2 separate regions of the Homo sapiens genome follow, and region 2 is linked to region 1. Evidence: promoter capture Hi-C in 16 types of primary human blood cells and fetal thymus (Javierre and others, 2016). All regions are on one chromosome and are shown on one strand. Each heading gives the region's core, a stretch centred on a gene start or on the middle of the fragment in contact. The rest is flanking DNA. Distances are from core to core; before and after follow the strand shown.

Evidence for each region. The method cuts DNA at HindIII sites, captures the fragments that hold promoters and counts their contacts. A CHiCAGO score of 5 or more calls a contact.
Region 2: the fragment with the promoter of SIRT2 here is called in contact with the fragment with the promoter of PSMD8 in region 1 in 1 of 17 cell types (neutrophils); the score reaches 10.1 in neutrophils.

What each region holds. Positions count from the first base shown.
Region 1 is chr19:38,373,183-38,375,901 of GRCh38, reverse strand. It overlaps PSMD8 (proteasome 26S subunit, non-ATPase 8), which reads right to left and starts at 1,331. Exons shown (of 7, transcript NM_002812.5): 1 at 941-1,331. The coding sequence starts at 1,300. RefSeq lists enhancers at 1,022-1,161, 792-1,422. The HindIII fragment of the contact is 10,393 bases long and covers 1-1,675 here.
Region 2 is chr19:38,898,261-38,900,979 of GRCh38, reverse strand. SIRT2 (sirtuin 2) reads left to right here and starts at 1,362. Exons shown (of 16, transcript NM_012237.4): 1 at 1,362-1,474; 2 at 2,555-2,601. The coding sequence starts at 1,459. It overlaps NFKBIB (NFKB inhibitor beta), which reads right to left and starts at 1,011. Exons shown (of 6, transcript NM_002503.5): 1 at 769-1,011. The coding sequence starts at 947. The HindIII fragment of the contact is 23,515 bases long and covers 1-2,719 here.

The DNA of each region.
Region 1 (2,719 bases), core at 82-2,581:
ATCACGCGGCGGTGGGGACAGGAGTACATTCCATTCTTGGCCCATCTTCCCCACAATCTATTGGGGAAGGGGTAGCTGGGCTATCCCCAAAATCTATATCTGGGAGGGGGAGGTCCAAATCTCCCCCCACAGTTCAGCCCATACATCTTTCCTTAGCAGGCTCAGCAGCTTGTTCCAAGCCACTGGATTTACACTCCCTCCCAACAGATGTTTGGTCTGAAGCACTCTGGGCCCCGTATTCTTGTTCTCTACTTGTAAGAATATTTCTTCTAGGTTCAGTCCTGCCTTCACAACTAGGCTGCCCCCTCTCCCAACAGATGCGAGCCTAAGCCCCAGATCTCTCAGATCCTAACCCAGCCTGGTCTTAACCACACACCCTCTACACAGCCCACCTTTTCAGCCTCATTCTTTTATCACTCCGGGCAGTCCTCACTTCCCACTTGGTCTTGCCTGGAATCCACCATCAGGAAAAGCCCGAATCCCAATCCTGCCACTCCGACCAGTTAAGCCTCCACGCACCAAAAATCTAACCCCTCACTCAGTTCTGCCATAAGTCTTCCAATCATTCCCCCACCACCCCCGCGTGGGTCCATTCCAGTCATCTCTCACTTAAAAAAAAAATGTAGAGACAGAGTCTCGCTATGTTGCTCAGGCTGATCTTGAACTCCTGGGCTCAAGCGACGCTCCCCCGCCTCGGCCTCCCAAAGCGCTGCGATTACAGGCGTGACCATCAACGCTCCCTGTCCCTCTCTCGCTTCTTGACGCCCTCCGAGCCCCCACTTTGGCTGTTCCAAATCTTTCACCCCATCGGATCCCCCAGCCCGCCTCAGTCTCGCTGGCACCGAGGTGGCTTCCGCGGCCCGGGACTTGGTTGGGTCCAGACACCTCGTAGCGCCTCCCACGCCCGCAACACTCGGTTTCCTGGGCCTGCCGACTTTACCTTGAGTCGACCCAGCTCTTCCCCGCACTTGCTAAGATTGGGGCTTTTACGGTTCCACTCGCCCTTGAGTTGCTCGTACATGCCGGTCGCGGCCTGCAGAACAGCGCCCGAGGTTGCCGCGGGCCCGGAGCTCGAGAAGCCTGCCGCCCCGTTCACCGCCGCGGCCGCCATCTTGCGTGATGCGGCAAGCAGACCGCCTGATTTACGGCAGCGCCGCCTACAAACGCTTGCCCGGCGGAAGTGGGGCCGAGAGGTGGAGCCCAAGGCCCGGGGCGGGGCTACAACCTGCCTCAGCCCGCCCCGGGTAGCCCGCCGTCGCTCTCGAGGTGGCGCCCTCGGAGCCCTGCCCTTAATGAACATGTCAGTTGGAGCTCCGCCTCTGTCGTCACTCAAGATGGTGACCGGAAGTTGGCTTTTGCCCTAACTGAAAATGACAGCTGTCTCAACACCACCCCCCCTACCCACCTCACGGTTCCAATAATGAACATGGCTGCCCTGGCTTCAGTCTGAGTGCTCGGGACGCTACGTAGCTGTCCTGGAGGTTCCGCCTTCGGGGCAGCGTCTCCAAGCCAAAAGGTAGCGGGTGTCGTGCCATTTGGAGAGCTGTGTTATTCTCATTTTATAGACAGACTGAGAGGCTGGGTAACCTTCCAAAGGACTAACAGCTAGGATGTGTACCTGGGGCTCCCTCTCCAGTCTTTTTCAATGCATCCTTCCACATTTTTTTCCCAAGCTTATATGAACTAACTAGTTACAAAACTCATCCAGCTCTATGGCTTTCAATGTCATGTGTAAGTGGAGGATTCACAATTTTTTTTTTTTGAGACGGAGTTTAGCTCTTGTTGTCCAGGCTGGAGTGCAATGGAGCAATCTTGGCTCACTGCATCCTCCGCCTCCTGGGTACAAGTGATTCTTCTGCCCCAGCTTCCCAAGTAGCTGGGATTACAAGCATGTGCCACCACGCCTGGCTAATTTTCGTATTTTTAGTAGAGACGTAATTTTAGTATTTTTAGTAGATGTTGGTCAGGCTGGTCTCCAACTCCTGAACTCAGGCGATTCCCTGGGCCCTGGCCTCCCGAAATGCTGGGATTACAGGCATGAGCCACCTTGCCTGGCCAGTATTCACAACTTCTTATACCAACTTCTTCCTCCACTGATTGATATTACATCTGCACATTCAACATCGCTTTTTCTCTCTTTTTAAAAAAAATTAAATTTTTTATAGAGACAGAGTCTCATTATACTGCCCAGGCTGGTCTCGAACTCCTGAGCTCAAGCGATATTCCTGCCTTGACCTCGCAAAGTGTTGGGATTAGAGGTGTGAGCCACTGCGCCTGGGCAGCACGTTTTTCTCAAACCCGACTTTCACTCTCCGTCTCCACCATTTAGAATGTCATCTCCATGAAGGCAGGACGATTTCCTTCACTACTGAATTCCCAGTATCTCAGTGCTTGGCAAATATTAGTAGACAGTCAATAAATATTTGTTGGCCAGGCATGGTGGCTCATGCCTGTAATCCCAGCACTTTGGGAAGCCGAGGCAGATAGATCACTTGAGGTCAGGAGTTCGAGACCAACCTGGCCAACATGGCGAAACCCCATCTGTACTGCAAATACCAAAAAAAAAAAACAAAAAAACCAGCTGTGCGTGGTGGCACACACCTGTAATCCCAGATACTCAGGAGCCCGAGGCAGGAGAATCGCTTAAACCCAGGAGGTCAGCTTGTAGTGAGCTGAGATTGTGCCGCTGCACTCCAGCCTGGGTGACAGAGTGAGACTC
Region 2 (2,719 bases), core at 113-2,612, 530 kb before region 1:
ACTTTCTATGTTTCTTTCTTTCTGCGTGTCTTTCTTTGTTTCTTCCTGTCTTTCCATTTCTTTCCTTCCTTGTGGTCTTATCAATCTGTTTATTTAGCTCCACTAAAATGTATGCTCCACAAGGGCTTAAGTTTTTGTTTGTTTTCTTCACTGCCTTTATCACTAGCACCTAAACGGAGCCTGGAACGTGGTAATGTGTAAAGAATATTTGTTTAACAGATGAATCCTTGGTCTCATGGAGCTAACATTCTTTTTTTTAATTTTCCTATTTTTTTACTTTAATTAGGAATTCAACATAGAAGAGCTTACATTCTCTCTCTTTGAATTTAAGATTTGAAGAACACTGCTCAGAAGACAGGATCTTAGAGTCAGGGACCAAGTATTAATTTCGGAAATCAAACTCTAGGGCTCAAATCGGGAACTAAGAATCAAAGATCATATTTGGAGGTTAGAAGTCAGGAGAAGCCACAGTTCTAACAGAAGTCTCAGGACTGGAGTCAGGTTTGGGTATCAGTGGATACAATGTGGATTCCAGGAGCTGAGAATCATAGTTCAAGAAAAGAAGGTAAGAAATGATTGGGTTAGGATCATAGCTAGATAGAAGATTGGTTTTGTTAAAAGTTAGGACTCGGGGGTTAGAGGTCAGGAAGTTCAGCATCGGAAGTCAGATTTAGGAGTATGAGGTTAGGAAGCCTCAGGGATCAGAGATTAATGAGGAATGTGACGCCGGGTCCTAGGGCTCCGTTTGGCAGCCTAAGGTTCACTCACGTGTCCCCATCCTCAGTGACGTAGCCGAAGACGAGGGGAGCCCACGACAGCCCCGGGCCCAACTCCGCGCCCAACCCAGGTCCTCCGGGGGCCGCTGCGTCCGGACCCAGGGAGCCCAGGCCGCTGTCGCACCATTCATCTGCGTCGGCAGCTTTTCCCAAGCACGCGACCCCAGCCATGGCCCCCGCCGCCTCAGGGGCCCCCCGCAGTCGCCCGCCTGTAGCTGGGCTTTGCCGGGAGTTCTGGAGCTTCCGCCCTGCGGGAAATTCCCCACCACGCCCCCTGATTCACCCAATGATAATATGCTGAATCGCTCACACCCCGCCCTCGTACTGCATCCTGACCAATCAGAGTATTCGGGAGGACTACAACTCTCTAGCCGTTCCCACATTTTCCGGGCGCCCTTTACCAACATGGCTGCTGACGCCACGCCTTCTGGGACTCGTAGTCCGGTCCTCGCGCGCTTTCTTACCTAACTGGGGCGCTCTGGGTGTTGTACGAAAGCGCGTCTGCGGCCGCAATGTCTGCTGAGAGTTGTAGTTCTGTGCCCTATCACGGCCACTCCCATTTCTGGTGCCGTCACGGGACAGAGCAGTCGGTGACAGGACAGAGCAGTCGGTGACGGGACACAGTGGTTGGTGACGGGACAGAGCGGTCGGTGACAGCCTCAAGGGCTTCAGCACCGCGCCCATGGCAGAGCCAGACCGTGAGTCGGGGATCCGGGTAGGAGGGTCGGGCCGCGCCGGGGCCTGGCTGAATGCTGCAGGCCCCGGGGCCCAAGGGTGGCCGCGGTGGGGCGGGAAGTAGGGAGCGCTTCGGGGAGTGGGATTCTGAGGGCTGTTGCTTAGCGATCTGTATCGCTAGGCTGGTGGGTTTCTGGGTCGCAGTGTGTTCAGGGTTCGTTTACCACATCCACTTGCCAAGTTGCCAATGATCGCGTGTTTCTCGCACCTTGGTTGCTAAGGTCCCTCGCTGCAAAGAACATAAGTTGCCCCGGTCCCGCTTGCTATGGGTACCTGATTGTTAGAGGCAACCAGAGGATGCTGAGGGACCCCTGCTGACCCCTCCTATGGCTTCCCCTTGTTCCGCGCCTCTCCTAAACCTACCGCCTCCACTGCACCACTGCACCTCCCTCCTAAACCTGCCTCCCAGCCAAAGCGTCTCTTCCCTTCTCTTTTCCTTTCTAAACTTCCCTCTGCCTTGTAAATCTAACCCTCCCCGCACACACACTCACACACTGTCGTGTCCTTCCTAACTCCTCCTGAGTGTTCCTTCATGCCCTGAATCCCCTAGGTAGGAGGAGGAGGATCGCTTGAGCCCAGGAATTTGAGGCTGCAGTGAGCTATGATCGCACTATTGCACTCCAACCTGGGTGACATGAGCGAGACCCTTTCTCTAAAAAGTAAAAAAGAAAGAAAGTAAGTCAGGGCCAGAAACAATGGCTCATGCTTGTAATCCCAGTACTTTGGGAGGCCAAGGTGGTTGGATCGCTTGAGCCCAGGAGTTCAAGACCAGCCTGGGCAAAAGCCCCTACTTTCTCCCTGTCCCCCTAAATCTTCCTCTCCAGCCTCTCTGCCCCTCACTAATCACCTCTCCCGGCATCACTTTGCATGTAGATAAGATCTTTTCTCCGTCCCCTCCCTCCCTCTGCTCCATTTTTACCACCATCCCATCCCAGTGTAACTAGGTTGGTGGGTGTTCTTGCCCCCTCACTGACCATTTGAACCCCTTTATTCCCCCCTTAATCGTTCTCCCCACTGTAACCACCTCTGCTCCCCTCCCCCAGCCTCTCACCCTCTGGAGACCCAGGCAGGGAAGGTGCAGGAGGCTCAGGTGAGATGGGGGAAAGGGTGGAGGGGAGGAGAGAGACGGACTTGTTCCACATCCCACACTGGGGGGAGGTGGCAAAGGGGAAACAGTCACCCCAGGGCCCTCGGCTCATTGCCCCAAT